4 separate regions of the Homo sapiens genome follow, and regions 2, 3 and 4 are each linked to region 1. Evidence: promoter capture Hi-C in 16 types of primary human blood cells and fetal thymus (Javierre and others, 2016). All regions are on one chromosome and are shown on one strand. The core of a region is centred on a gene start or on the middle of the fragment in contact, and the rest is flanking DNA. Distances in the headings are between cores, read along the strand shown. Region 1 holds the start of MUSK (muscle associated receptor tyrosine kinase). Region 2 has its middle 20 kb from the start of MIR7702. Region 3 has its middle 20 kb from the start of OR2K2. Region 4 has its middle 2.3 kb from the start of OR2K2.

The links. Contacts are between HindIII fragments. The CHiCAGO score rates a contact against its expected background, and 5 or more counts as called.
Region 2: a fragment that was not itself captured here is called in contact with the fragment with the promoter of MUSK in region 1 in 5 of 17 cell types (M1 macrophages, endothelial precursors, erythroblasts and 2 more); the score reaches 6.7 in M1 macrophages.
Region 3: a fragment that was not itself captured here is called in contact with the fragment with the promoter of MUSK in region 1 in 7 of 17 cell types (M2 macrophages, M1 macrophages, monocytes and 4 more); the score reaches 10.0 in M2 macrophages.
Region 4: a contact is called between a fragment that was not itself captured here and the fragment with the promoter of MUSK in region 1, in 1 of 17 cell types (M1 macrophages). The highest score is 7.4, in M1 macrophages.

Annotation. Positions count from the first base shown.
Region 1 is chr9:110,666,673-110,670,806 of GRCh38, reverse strand. It overlaps MUSK (muscle associated receptor tyrosine kinase), which reads right to left and starts at 2,016. Exons shown (of 15, transcript NM_005592.4): 1 at 1,824-2,016. The coding sequence starts at 1,902. The HindIII fragment of the contact is 6,269 bases long and covers 1-4,134 here.
Region 2 is chr9:111,289,161-111,292,843 of GRCh38, reverse strand. No RefSeq gene overlaps it. Among named protein-coding and RNA genes, the nearest start is that of MIR7702, 20 kb to the right of the region's middle. The HindIII fragment of the contact is 966 bases long and covers 1,680-2,645 here.
Region 3 is chr9:111,308,381-111,312,302 of GRCh38, reverse strand. No RefSeq gene overlaps it. Among named protein-coding and RNA genes, the nearest start is that of OR2K2, 20 kb to the left of the region's middle. The HindIII fragment of the contact is 4,775 bases long and covers 1-3,922 here.
Region 4 is chr9:111,330,569-111,334,478 of GRCh38, reverse strand. No RefSeq gene overlaps it. Among named protein-coding and RNA genes, the nearest start is that of OR2K2, 2.3 kb to the right of the region's middle. The HindIII fragment of the contact is 4,561 bases long and covers 1-3,910 here.

The DNA of each region.
Region 1 (4,134 bases), core at 767-3,266:
GATGTTAAACTCATACTAATTTAGATTTTACAGTACAATAGACTGAGAAAAAATTGCTTAAATTTTTTGATTTTAAAACCTAATTCTAGTAGTAAATAAATTATAAGAAATGAAATTGGGTGAATGATCTGGTTAGTTTATTTAAAAGTCAGGGTGTTTGGCTTTGTTATCTCTATGCCACTATATTTCAATATTTTCAAAATAGAGATAGTGTGCATTTGAATTAAGGGCTTTATTTGTAAAGTTTGGAAATGAAAATCAATTCTTTCTAGAATATAAATTAAGACTTATTCAGATAGAGAGATTTTGGGGGTTTTGTGTGTGTGTACAACAAATCCTTATTTGAATCATCAAAATCAATTGTCCTGCTCTTTATAAGACTGTATTTTAGTATTTAACCCTATCATTTTTATGTAACTGCGTGGTTTAGAAATATACAAATAATACTTAAGACAACCCATACGTTCAAACATCCAGGTGGGGCCTTACCGGACATCCGTTGTTTGATCAGGAAGTATTAAAATAATCTGAAGCCAATGTTAAGTCTTTCTGACTATTATTAGCTGTTTGAAAAGATCTAGAGTCTCTTTTATCTGTAGATGCCTTAAAGTATTCATTAGAAATTAAATGTTTAAATACATTTGAAGATACCATTATACTCAAGTAAAATGGAAAAAGAGAAGCAACAAAATGAAACAAAAAAATCTGTGAAATCAGATTGTTTGTGAAGAAACCCGCATCTTATTTGCATGTGAACTTTGACCTTATGGCTCCAGAATTTTTAGTGAACCAGAAAATCTAAAGATACATTTTGCATCTATATACAGATACCACCTTCATTTATCTACACAATACAAACTGTTTCAGTGCTTTGATTAATATAAAGGGAAAATGATTAATTTGAACATGTCCTGAAGCAAAAATCTCTTTTTACTCTATGGTATAACATTAAATTTGAAAACTCTTGTATTGATACCACTCGATCTGCTTTCTCATGTCTTTTTAAAAAAAGATTTCAGTGATACCCTTAGTCACTTTGCAAATCACAGACTTTCCAGTCTTTCTGATTTCAAATACGCTAGTCCCAGTTTCATAATACACTGGCCAGAAACTATATCACTGGACATTCTTGCTACTGCAACAGGTGTTTGTCAGTTTCTTAAGTTGCTTTCCTTTCCCCTGAGGTGGTGTTATTTCCGGTACATTCCAAAGGCTCTGAAAAAAACTTTTGCAGTCTCTTGCCAAGCCAAATCATGACTCCAGCCTCAAAGTTATTTAAAATCCATTGTCTTCCGGGTTTGTTACACAGGCAAATTGTGTACGTCTTTCTGTATTTCCAATTTTTAGCAACTAAAATATTTATTAAGAGTTTGGCAAAGCTAAAACTGAAAATAAAAGTGATTTTTATTCAGAAGCAAATGCTCTGGATGTCTGAGAATGGGGTTGATTCTATTCCTGGCAAACCTGATGCGAAAAGGTTGTCATCATCCACTTAGACCACCCTGAAATTTGACATTCGCATAAACAAAATAGACCTTGATAACTTGCAGTGTACATGCTTATGTTTTGCCCTAGAAGTCAGAGCTCTGCATGCACTATGTGGCTAAGCCTTTTATTGCAGAACTTCGGAGTAAAATATTGGTAGAGAGACCATCAACCAATTGCTTATGTATATAATTTCCTCCCTCATCATACATTTCACCCTTACTTCTTCAAGTAAAACCCAAGCCCACCATACTATAAATCAGTCTTGGTCATATCTCATATACACACACTTTACAACCATGACAAGACAACAAGAAGACACGATTGCTCAAACCAACCTTTTGGAAGTTTCTCAGTTCCGCTGAAGGCAACCAGAGTAAGAATATGTACCAGTGGAATGTTGACGAGCTCTCTCATGATTAATCCAGGCTCACGCAGGACGAAGTTCCTTCTGGACAACGCAAGGAAAATGGCTCCACAGTTTACATTTTAAAGCATACTTTGTTGCAAAAGGGTTGTCTGCTAATGACTGTTTGTGTCAGCAGCTCCACAGGCTCTAAGTATAATCAGGAATTCTCAGACTTGGCTGCAATGATGGACACAGCCAGCTGGTGAGCATCCACGTAGGCCAGTAATGCAAGTGTAGGGCTGGAGGAACAAGGGCAAGAAAATCCCTTTAGAATCCCTTTTAAGACAGTGGCAGAAGGACAATACCAGATGCCTTTTGCAACCATCGCTGTATTCCCAGAGGTATAGGTGTCCTGACCTTCGAATTCAGCACCCCACCTCTCCCGGACTCAAACCAGAAATCTGGGTCTATTCAGTCTTCAGTCCTCCCCATCTCTCACCCCACCCCCACTCCCACATTCAGCCCATTCCAATTCCTACAGATTTTATCAACCAAATAGTCCTTGTACCTTCTCTCTGTCTTGGGTCTTAACCATTCTATATCTTTTTTCAGATAGTCCCTCCTGCTCAAAAGCCTTTAGGGGCTCATCATCACATAAAAATATATTTAAACCTGCCTAATCTGCCTAATATGACAGGCTTTACTGGAATCTGCATGCTTTGTTGTATGTTAGTATTGTCTTTTACGATCCTGTTTTTGTTTTTTGTTTTTTTTTTTTTTCAGAGTCAGGGTCTTGCTCTGTTGCCCAGGCTGGAGTGCAATGGGGTAATCATAGCTCACTGCAACCTCAGCCTCCTGGACTCAAGTGATCCTTTCAGAGTAGCTAGGACTACAGGCACTGCCACTACAGCAGGCTAATTTATTTTTATTTTTTGGAGAGATGTGGTCAGGCTATGTTACCCAGGCTGGTCTCAAACTGCTGGCCTCAAATGATGATTCCACCTCGGCCTCTCAAAGTGCTGGGAATGCAGGCGTGAGCTACTGTGCCCAGCCTCATTCAGCTTCCTTTATTCAACAACCTGCTGATGGTTCCCTGTATACAGCTTTCCTACCTCCATGAATTGCTCATACTGTTTGCTTCTCTTGGAATACTACTCCCCTCCTTTCCACTCAGTTCACACATCTCTCAGCTTGATCATCCTCTCCTCCTGGGAGAAAAATTCCATATCTTCCCAAAGCTGTGTTACGTTTGTCTTCTCTGGGTTTCCATAATATACTGTGCATATCTCTACCATTGCAATGACCATATTGTTTTGATTTTTTCCCCTTTGTGTTGGTGTCTTCTTCATTCTTTGGCCTCGTGAGTTCATTTATAGAACTTTAGAGTCAGGTAGTGTGATGCCGCCAGCTTTGTTCTTTTTGCTTAGGATTGCCTTGGCTATATGGGCTCTTTTTTGGTTCCATATGAAATTTAAAGTAGTTTTTTCTAATTCTGTGAAGAAAGTCAATGGTAGCTTGATGGGGATAGCATTGAATCTATAAATTACCTTGGGCAGTACAGCCATTTTCACAATATTGATTCTTCCTATCATGAGCATGGAATGTTTTTCCATTTATTTGTGTCCTCTTTTATTCCCTTGAGCAGTGGTTTGTAGTTCTCCTTGAAGAGGTCCTTCATATCCCTTGTAAGTTGGATTCCTAGGTATTTTATTCTCTTTGTAGCAATTGTGAATGGGAGTTCACTCATGATTTGGCTCTCTGTTTGTCTGTTATTGGTATATAGGAATCTTGTGATCTTTGCACATTGATTTTGTATCCTGGGACTTTGCTGAAGTTGCTTATCAGCTTAAGGAGATTTGGGGCTGAGATGATGGGGTTTTCTAAATATACAATCATGTCATCTGCAAACAGAGACAATTTGACTTTCTCTCTTCCTATTTGAATACGCTTTATTTCTTTCTCTTGCCTGATTGCCCTGGCCAGAACTTCCAATAGTAGGTTGAATACGAGTGGTGAGAGAGGGCATCCTTGTCTCGTGCCAGTTTTCAAAGGGAATACTTCCAGCTTTTTCTCATTCAGTGTGACATTGGCTGTGGGTTTGTCATAAATAGCTCATTTTTTTTCGATGGGTTCCATCAATACCTAGTTTATTGAGAGTTTTTAGCATAAAGGGGTGTTAAATTTTATTGAAAGCCTTTTCTGCATCTATTGAGATAATCATGTGGTTTTTGTCACTGGTTCTGTTTATGTGATGGATTACATTTATTGATTTGCATATGTTTAACCAGCCTTGCATCCCA
Region 2 (3,683 bases), core at 913-3,412, 620 kb before region 1:
TGTTATATTTCTATTGGACAATTCTGTTTTAGAATTTTCTTTAATGATGGCAAATTATGAAGTTTTGTTTTGTCTGAAAATGTCTATTTTGTACTTGCTCTTGAAATGTTTTTCCACTGGATCTACTGTGCTAGGTTGAGTTATTTCCTCTTATCATATTGAGAATATTATTTTACTGCCTGGCTTCCATTTTTGCTGTTAAGATGTCAGTTAATGTTGTTACTCCTTTGGCATTAATTTTTCTTTCCACTCTAGTTCCTGTTTGAAAAATCTCCTGGTTTGTAATATCCTGATATTTTATTATGATGAATTTAGCTATGTGTTTATTATTATGTATCCTGCTTGGATTCGCTATTGATTTCTTCTATAAATTCTAGGAAATTACTCATCATTATCTCTTTAGGTATTACCTCTTCTCCATTCTATTTCTCCCTTTTTATGAAACTCCATTTACATGTATATTACACTTTATCTTCTATATCTTAACCTCCTTTTTATTGTTTTCCATCTTTTTGTCTCTCTAAGGAGCATACTAAATTAATTCTGTATAACTAACTTTTTGCTAATACTTTTATCTGTGTCTAATCGTCTGGTTCAACTGCTTCATGGAATTTGTTTCATTTCAATGATTTTATTTTATATTTTGATACTGGGAGCACAGTTTGGTTCTTTTTCAAATCTGCTTACTCTTATAATCCCTTGCTCTTTAATCATATTTAAAACATTTCATTTCTTTGAATATATTTTAAATCAACATATTTAAAAAATATTCTATTACCAATAATTCCAATATCTGAACTCTTTGCAAGACTGATTTTGTTGTCTGTTATTATTGCAGGCTTTCTCAGATGGTAGCTTCTTTCCTTGTGTATTTTGTAATTTTTGACTGTAAGCTGCTCATGGTCCTTGGAATATCTTTGGTAGGAATTCTTTGAGGCTTTTGTTGAGGGTTGGTTCATTGAAAAAATATTTACATTTGCTTCTTCCATGAGACTAGGGACACTGAAAACCCAGGGGGATAACTTTAAATTAAGTTCTCAGGTTTGTTGGATCATCTAGATAGAGAAAATTTGAGGCTCCTGAGGGGGTTAGCTTTGGAATGAATTTGCATACCTTCTTTACCCCATCCAAGGTTTCAAACAGGCAATTTTCTCTATTATGCCCTTGGTGTGTGAGGTGTTTGATTCTATTCATCTTACACTGATGTACAAGTAGTTCTTTGGGAACCCACTTGTTATTTGGCCAGTTTTCCATGAGACTGTGCATCACAGGTGAGCTTCGTCTTCTGTCCTCTGCAACCCATGAGCCTGTGAAAACAGAAGCCTAAGGTCACTTGGATTCAGAAAATGCCTCAAAACAAAGCCAGGTTTAGTTCTCCACTTATTCCTCTAGGTATTTTTTTGTTCTCTTCAGTTTTTATTGTCCAAAGGTTGTCTATTTTCTTATCAGCTTATTGAGTATTTAAAAAGACAATGACTATGGTAAAAGAGAAATATTTTATAATGAAGCATCCCCATACTGAATATATAGCAACTAAGAAATATATAAAATAGGCAAATAAATGTATACAATAAAACCTTTTGCAAAAGAACAATGTCAGAGGCAATTATAGTGGAAGCCGTAATACAGTATTCTCAATCTCTGACAGGCTAAGTAGACAAAAATAAGGACATGAAGCTTTAAATAATTTAAATTCCAGCCCTGCATTAACAGATATATAGCATTTGTTCTCCACAGGTAATGTACTTTCTTTCTTAAATTTTATTTTTAATTGAAAAATAATAATCATATATATTGTATATTTATGGGATACAGGATGTGTTTTGATCCATATTTACACTATGGAATGATTAAATCAAGCTAATTAACAAATAAAAAAAGTTTAAAAACTATATATATATTTAAGGCCGGGCATGGTGGCTCATGCCTAGCACTTTAGGAGGCCAAGGCAGGTGGATCACTTGAGTTCAGGAGTTCAAGACCATCCTGGGTACCATGGCGAAAGCGCATCTCTACAAAAAATGCAAAAATTAGCTGGGTGTGGTGGTGCATACCTGGTCCCAGCTATTCCAGAGGCTGAGATGGGAAGATAACTTGAGCCTGGCAGACCGAGGTTGTAGGGAGCCATGATCGCGTCACACTGCAGTCCAGCCTGGGCAACAGAGTGCGATCTCATCTCAAGAAAAAGAGTTATTAAAAATATATATTTAATCTAGCATTTTTTAGTCATTTTCACCAGGAGGGTCAATCATGGTCTTTAGTCCATTATGATACCATAAATGGCAGTCTTATGTTTGCTTTGAGTGAAATTTTAAAATTTTATTTGCAACAGGTTTTGTAGTTATTTTCTGTGTATATTGTTATGTTATCTTGTCTGTACTGACACTAGTGCTTTTATATTTTGACTTTTGACTTCTTGAATCCTCTTTCAACTACTTTAGCTTTAGAATGTAATTGAAGACATTTCTGTCAAAGGTGCATTTGTGGAATTCTTGCTGTATCTTTGCATGAGAAGTTTTTTCTGTTGCTTTTGTTTGTGAAAGAAAGTTGACAAAGTTCAGAATTTTAGTTCACTATGTTTTTCCCCTCAAAATCTGGCAGACACACCTCCATTTTCTTCTTGAATTTACACATGTGATGAAGCTTGAATTTTTTCCATTTCTAGATAAACTTTTCTTCTTCTTATACTCTATAGTATTTTTCTTTATCCACATCATTAAAATAGTTTGCCTTTTGTGTTGGAATGGGTTCTAGTTCAATAATTTTTCCCGGAACATCCTGAACCCTGTTTTTGAATAGACTCAGGATTTCTATTTTTTTAATTCCAGAAAATTTTTTTTCTTTCTTTTATGTTTTTTGTTCATTTTGTTTTTGGGTCCTAATATTTCTGACTTCCCTGTTTTTGAAAAATATCATTTTTCCTGTCAGTATTTAATTTTTGTTGTTATTTTCTCTCTGTGCAGTGATAGATTCTCAAGTTTGTCTTCAATATTATTGTTCCAGTTTTATTCAATGTCACTTCTGCTCATTACCTTCTTCAATGGAGATTTTAATTTTATTATAATATATTAGATTTTTTGTACTTGTTTTTCTCATTTCAGCTAGTTCCTTCTGCATCTCTTTCTTCATTTAACTATATTCCCCATTAAAACTTGGAGTTTTTGTTTTACAAAGGTCATGTCTTCTTATAACTCTGGGAACACTAGGAAACTGTACCATAATTTTCTTCTGATTCTTCTGGAAGTCATCTCATTATTTTTTAGAGTCTACTTTTCTCCTGAGTTTTCATGCCTTATATTTGGCTTCCTTCTTTATTGCAGTATCTTTTCATTGATTCTATATAGATTTATTTGTTGTTCATTTCATTGTGAATATTTAGATCTCTCCAGGCATGGCATGGTCTACAAATCAGGGTAGAAGTTTATCTATCTATCTATTATCTATCTATCTATCATCTATCTATCTATCTGCACACATATAGTATTTAAATAATTCAGATTCTGTTAGCACAAGTGTTATTAAAATGTGCTCTACAGGTACCTAGATTTCTGGAAAGGTCCTTCTGGGCAGCCTCGGGGGACAAGAATGAGCACAAGCCTACCCATCCGAGTTCTCTTATCCTGAAAACTGAGGCACTCCACACTTACCTGTTTTATATATCAAGCCTCTGCATTAAAATTTAT
Region 3 (3,922 bases), core at 651-3,150, 640 kb before region 1:
TGTTAAAATGACAATACTATCCAAAGCAACTTCCAGATTCAACGCAATCCCTATCAAAATACGAATGACATTCTTCACGGAAAAAAAAGTCCTAAAATTTATGTGGAACCACAAAAGACCCCGAGTAGCCTAAGCAATCCTGAGCAAAAAGAACATGGCTGGAGGTATCACACTACCTGATTTCAAAATTTACTACAAAGCTATAGTAACCAAAATAGCATGAAAACAGACATATAGACCAATGGAACAGAACTGAGAACCCAGAAACAAACACACATTTACAATTCACTTATTCTTGACAAAGGGGCCAAGAACATCCAATGGGAAAGGATAGTCTCTTCAATAAATGGGGCTGGGAAAATGGGACATCCATATGCAGACAAATGAAACTAGACTCCTATCTCTCACCATGCACAAAAATGAAACAAAAATGGATTAAAGATGTAAATCTAAGACCTAAAACTGTGAAACTACTAGAAGAAAACATTGGGGAAATGCTCCAGGACATTTGGGCAAATTTTTTATGTGTAAGACCTCAAAACCATAGGCAACCAAAGCAAAAATAGACAAATTAGCTTGATTACATCGAGTTAAAAAGCTCTGCACAGCAAAAGAAACAATCAGCAAAGTGAAGAGACAACCCACAGAATGGGAGAAAATATTTACAAACTACCCATCTGACAAGGGATCAATAGCCAGAATATATAAGGAGCTCCAAAAACTCAATAGCAAAAAACCAAGTAATCTGATTAACAAAAAGCCCAAGGAACTGAACAGACATTTCTCAGAAGAAGATGTAGAAATGTCCAACAGGTGTATGAAAAGATACTCAACATTACTAATCATCAGAGAAATGCAAATCAAAACCACAATGTGATAAACATGCAGATAAAATGGTTTATATACAAAAGGCAGACAATAACAGATGCTGGTGAGAATATGGAGAGAGGAGAACCCTCATACACTGTTGGTGGGAATGTCAATGAGTACAGCCACTATGGAGAACAGTATAGAGGTTCCTCAAAAAACCACAAATAGAATTATCCTATGATCCAGCAATCCCACTGCTGGGTATATACCCACAAGAAAGGAAATCAGTATGTCAAAGAGATATCTGCACTCCCATGTTTATTGCAGCACTAATCACAATAGCCAAGCTATGGAATCAATCTAAGTGTCCATCAGTGGATGAATGATAAAGAAAATGTGGTACCTATATTCAATGGAATATTATTCAGCCATAAAAATGAATGAAATCCTATGATTTGCAACAATATGGATGGAATTGGAGGCCATATGTTAAGTGATATAATCCAAGCATGGAAAGACAAATATCGCATGTTCTCAGTATTTCGTGAAGATAGAGAATAGACTGGTGGTTACTAGAGGCTGAGAGGGGGAGGAGGGAGGGAGGGATGAAGGGAAAGAAAAAGAATATACTTGTATTTATTTACTATTACCACAGAACTGTACACTTGAAAATGGTAAAAGTGAAAACTTATATATGTATATTTTACCTCAACAAAAAAAGTTTTAAAATCAGAATTAAACAAGTAACGAAATCCAATCATGTATAAAAAAAGGTAATACATGGAAAACTTGTATTACATGCAAGACATACCCCAGATATGCAGTTTTTGTTTTTTTGTTTTGTTTTGTTTTTGAGACAGGGTCTCACTCTGGTGGTCAGGCTGGAGTGCAGTGGTGCAATCTCGGCTCACTGCAGCCTTGACCCCTCGGGCTCAAGAGATCCACCTCTGCCTTCCGAGTAGCTGGGACTACTTGTGCGTGCCACCATTCCCAGTTGATTTTTGTATTTTTTGTAGAGACATGGTTCACAATGTTTCCCAGGCTAGTCTTGAACTCCTGGGCTCAAGTGATCCACCTGCCTTGGCCTCCCAAAATGCTGGGATTACAGGTGTGTGCCACTGCACCCAGTCCTGCAAAGTTGTTTTAATAAAAACATCAACTACCACATTAGTAGATTAAAGGGGGAGAGTTATGTTGGCACCTCAACAGATGAAAAAAATCCCATTTGATAAAATTAACATCCTTTCATGATTTTACAAAACTGCCAGCAAACTTAAAATAGATACGAACTTCCTTAACTTGGACAAAATTTATTGTGAATTTTGAAAGCATTTTGTTTTCAGTTTTGCACAATTTGTTAGCTCATAATTTAATTGTTTAATTGAGATAATATTTGTACATTTTTATGGGGTACATGTGATATTTTGTTACATGCATAGGCTGTGTAATGACCAAGTCAGGGTATTTAGGATACACATTGCCTCGAGCATTTATCATTGCTATGTGTTGGGAACATTTTTTTAAGATGGAGTTTTGCTCTTGTTGCCCAGGCTGGAGTGCAATGGCGCGATCTCGGCTCACCGCAACCTCCGCCTCTTGTGTCCAAGCGATTCTCCTGCCTCAGCCTCCTGAGTAGCTGGGATTACACACACGTGCCACCACGCCCTGCTAATTTTGTGTTTTTAGTAGAGATGTTGTTTCTCCATGTTGGTCAGGCTGGTCTTGAACTCCTGACCTCAGGTGATCCACCTGCCTCGGCCTCCCAAAGTGCTGGGATTACAGGTGTGAGCCACTGCCATTTCAAGGCCTCTCTTTTAGCTATTTTGAAATATACGATACATTGTTAACTGTGGTCACCGTACTCTGCTATCCAACAGCAGAACTTATTCCTCCCATCTGTTCCTGTATGTTTGTACCCATTAACCAACCTGTCTCATTCCCCCGACTCCCCCACTTCCAAGCCTCCGGTAACTATTATTCTACTGTCTACCCTCATGAGATTAACTTTTTTAGCTCCTACATATGGGTGAGAACATGCAATATTTGTCTGTAATTTTTGTTTCTCAGGCTGGATTTATTGGGTTTGGATATAAAAGAATGCTAGCACCATAAAATGAGTTCGCAAGTGTTTCCTTTTCTCTATTCTCTGAAAGAGTATGTATAAAAATTGGAATTATATTTCCTTAAGTATTTGGTAGAACTCACTGGAGTTTTTCTTTTTCTTCTTTTTCTTTATGGACCATGGGTGAATAGAATTGTAGTAATTATAGTCCTTGGTTCATTAAACAATTTCATCATTCAAGTCTCATTGTTTATTTTGAATAATAGCATGAACAGTCATGAGCTCATTCATTTGCATATAAATTAGAATATTGACAAAATAACTTGTGTCTACCTATAGGCTGATTCCCAGCCTGTTCCTTGACCTCCCTATTAAGGTAAACACTGTCGTGAATTTTGTGTTTATCATTCTTTTGCCTTATTTTTATGTGGTTTTGTCATATATAACGAGGTGTATTTAGGGTCTTCTTTGTCACTGTGTGCCACATTCTCTCTTAAAGGTGTTTGCTTTTTCACACTATATTATATTCTAAGAGGCATCTTTATTATGTTTTGTGCGAGTAGGTATTCATTCTGACTTCTGCATAATATTCCATTGTGTGAACATACCAAAGTTAATACACTTTCCTGTTTAGAGCATTGGGGCTATTTTTTCAGTTTGTTTGTTTTTTGCTATCATGAACAGTGTCGTTATATACAATCTTGAACATTTCTCCTGGTATAAATATGAAAGTGTGCCTGTTGGTTTTTGTTGAATGGAATTACTAGCTTGTATGAAATGTGAATGTTCAGTTTTAAAGAATAATCCCAAACTGGTTTCCAGAGTGGCCATTAACAGTTTATAGTCCAACCACTAATGTTTCTGTTAACACACATGCTGTCTATAGATTCTGTTAATACACATGCTATGTATACTTGGTATGTCAGACTTTTAAATATTTGCCAATATTAATATAAATTGATATTGTGGTCTTGATTGCATTTCTCAGCTTGTGGTATTAGCTCACTGTTATGAAGATACATAAGAGAATGGTATCTTACCACATTTCCC
Region 4 (3,910 bases), core at 914-3,413, 660 kb before region 1:
TCAGCCCCCTTTCCAGGGAGAGTGAATGGTTCTGTCTCACTGGAGTTCCAGGTGCCACTGGGGTATGAAAAAAAACTCCTGCAGCTAGGTTGGTGTCTGCCCAAACAGCCGCCCAGTTTTGTGCTTGAAACCCAGGGCCCTGGTGGCGTAGGCACCTGAGGGAATCTCCTGGTCTGCAGGTTGCAAAGACTGTGGGAATAGTGTAGTATCTGGGCTGGAGTGCACCATTCCTCACAGTATGATCCCTCACAGCTTCCCTTGGCTAGTGGAGGGAGTTTGCCAACCCCTTGTGCTTCCTGAGTGAGGCGACACCCCACCCTGCTCCGGCTCCCCTCCCTGGGCTGCACCCACTGTCTAACCAGTCCCAGTGAGATGAGCCGGGTACCTCAGTTGGAAATGCAGAAATCACCTGCCTTCTGGGTTGATCTCGCTGGTTGCTGCAGACCAGAGCTGCTCCTATTTGGCCATCTTGCCAGGCCCGTTTGGAAAGAGCTGATTTCTTGACAATATTGTCTTCCTAGCATCCAAGAACATGAAATATTTCTCCATTTATTTAGTTCTTCTTTGATTTCATTTATCAGAGTTTTATAGTTTTCCTTATATAGATTATACACATATTTTGTTAGATTCATGCTCAAGTATATCATTGTGGGGGAGGGATCCTAGTGTAAACAATGTTGTGTTTTTAATTGCAAATTCCATTTCTTCTTTGCTGGTATACAGGAGAGCAAGTGACTTTTGTACATTAACCCTGTGTCCTGAAACCTTATTGGGAATTGCTTATTCTTAGTTCCAGCAGGTTTTTGTTGATTCTTTCAGATTTTCTACATAGACGGTCATCTCATTGTCAATTTTCTTATAAAATTCTTGTTGTCTTGTTGCCTGGTGGTGGGAGGGATTTGTCGTGAGTGCTGACTTTTAGAAAAATAAAGTTTCAAGATTAATATTATTAAAACTTCAAGTCATTAGTTATCATGTTTCCTATGTTTTACAATCAAACAAGCCTATTGGATTTAGCCAGTTTCACTATTCCAAGCTCATGCTGTATGGGCCACTCTAGCCCATTATCCCCAAAATATAATCCTACCATTTAATTAGCTCTATTTTATATTTTATATTATTCAATATAGTTGTTGTTTCTTCTTTTCCTAAGAAGGAAACAATTTGCCTATTCATGTGGTAGGACCAAGTTCTTCTGAGGGTCTTCTTTCTGGACGTTTGCCATCAGTGATCCAGAGTAAATGAACTGTCATAAGGACACAGAAAATATGGAGAAGGCATTACTTGCAAAAAGTATGTGGCAATAAGTGCATTTTCTCTCCACACACAACTTTTAAAAAAATATTTTTACCAATGATTTGAGGGTAAGTTGGAGACATTTTGCCCTTTTAACACTAAATGCTTCAGTGTGTATTTCCTAAGAATAAGAGCATTATCTTACATAACCATAGTACAGTGATCAAGATCAGGAAATATGATATTGATAGAATGCTAATATCTAATCCCCAGCCCATTTTCAAATGTTGTCAATTGTCCTAATAATGTCCTTTACAGACCATTTTTCCTAATCTAAGATTCATGCTGGGGCATGTATCATATTTAGTTGTCCTGTCTCTTTCAGGTATGGAACATTTTCTTGGTTTTTCTTTTTGTTTCCTGATTGTGACACTTTTTTTTTTTAATTAGGAGTTTTTTATTTTATGATTTCTTCTTTTTTATTTCAGTAGGTCTTGGGGGAACTGGTAGTGTTTGGCTACATGGGTAAGTTCTTTAGTGGTGATTCCTGAGATTTTGGTACACCCACCAGTGTACATTATCCCCAATACGTTGTCTTTTGTTCCCCAGCCTCGCATCCTTTCCCCTGAGTCCCCAGAGTCCATTGTGTCATTCTTATGCCTTTGCATCCTCATAGCTTAGCTCCCACTTATGAGTGAGAGAGCGAGAACATAGCATGTTTGATTTTCCATTCCTGAGTTACTTCACTTAGAATAATGATCTCCAATTCCATCTAGGTTGCTGCAAATGCCTTTATTTTGTTTCTTTTTGTGGCTGAGTAGTATTCCATGGTGTGTGTGTGTATGTATATCTATCTATCTCACATTTTCTTTATCTGCTCATTGATTGTTGGGCATTTGGGCTGATTCCATATTTTTGCAATTGCGAATTGTGCTGCTATAAACATGTGTGCAAGTATCTTTTTTGTATGATGACTTCTTTTCCTCTGGGTAGATACTCAGGAGTGGGATTGCTGGATTAAATGGTAGATCTACTTTTAGTTCTTTAAGGAGTCTTCACACTGTTTTCCATAGTGGTTGTACTAGTTTACCTTCCTACCAGCAGTGTAAAAGTGTTCCCCTTTCATCCCATCCATGCCGACATCTATTATTTTTTGATTAAGGCCCTTCTTGCAGGAGTAAGGTGGTACTGCACTGTGGGTTTGATTTGCATTTCCCTGATAATTAGTGATGTTGAACATTTTTTCATATGTTTTGTGGCCATTTGTATATCCTTTTTTGAGAATTGTCTGTACTTTTGGAAAGCATAGGCTGATTATGTTGCATAATATCCCTAAATTTAGGTTTGTCTGGTTTACACTCATGGTTAGATTCTGGTGATTTAATTTTGATGGGAATACCTCAGAAGTGATAGTGTGTTCTCAGTACCTCATATTAGAAGGCACATGGAGTCTATTTGTCCCAATATTGGTGATTTTAACATGATTATCCTTCAGGCCTCCCCACCATAAAGTTATTATTTTATCTTTAAACTTACTAAGTAATTTGTGGTGAGATATTTTGACACCATGTAAATATACTGTTCATCCAACTTTTACCTTCAAAAACGACACTGCCTACATTAACCTAATACAACATTTTACCTGTGGTAATCTATTGCCTACAAAACCCTTAACTGTGATTGATTATTTTCTAACATCATTCCTCTAAATTTATATTTTTTGGCATCCTACTGTGAAGAAGAGCTTTCTATTCCTATTTATTTATATAATAACGTACATTTTTATATTATTCTATGAATTATGATCAATTATTATCATTTTTATTTTGATGCTCCAAATAATCTGTCCTAAATTTAGCAATGGGAGCTTCATCAAGTGGGCGTCTATGACCCTTTGCTATATTCCTACCATTCTTTGCATATTTCTTACTTTCTGGTATGGTAAGATACTCTAAGTTAATCTTGTTCTTTCTTATCCTAGCTCTGGTATTAGTCATTTTCCCAAGGAGCCATGTTTCCTTCTAGTTAAGAATGGTGTTTAGAAACTAATATCTGGGGCCGGGGGTGGTGGCTTACGCCTGTAATCCCAGCACTTTGGGAGGCTGAGGTGAGTGGATTGCTTGAGCTCAGGAGTTCGAGACCAGTCTGGCCAACATGGTGAAACCCTGTCTCTACCAAAAATACAAAAATTAGCCCAGCGTGGTGGCACATGCCTGTAGTCCCAGCTACTCAGGAGGCTGAGGCAGGAGAATCCCTTGAACCTGGGAGGTGGTGGTTGCAGTGAGCTGAGATCGTGCTACTGCACTCCAGCCTGGGCGACAGAGCCAGACTCTGTCTTAAAAACAAAACAAAACAAAGCAAAGATCTAGGATGTGCCCATTACTACCGAGGTCTCATTGCCTTACAATCCTCTCAATATGTGTATATTAAATAACATTTCTGATCACTTGTTGGGGCAGTCAGTGATTTCTCTGTGGCTTTAAAAAGTAAATGTTCTTTCCCTAATTTCTGAAAACCAGGGAGTAATTTCACAAATGCACAAAATGTATTTTAGTATTGTAGGGACATCTTTTCTCTGTATTCTGTTAAGTATTCTACGCTGAAATCATTCATTAAAAAGTCTTGACATAGCTAAAGATTGACAAGAAGAAAGTGAATAGAAAACTTTGTTTTC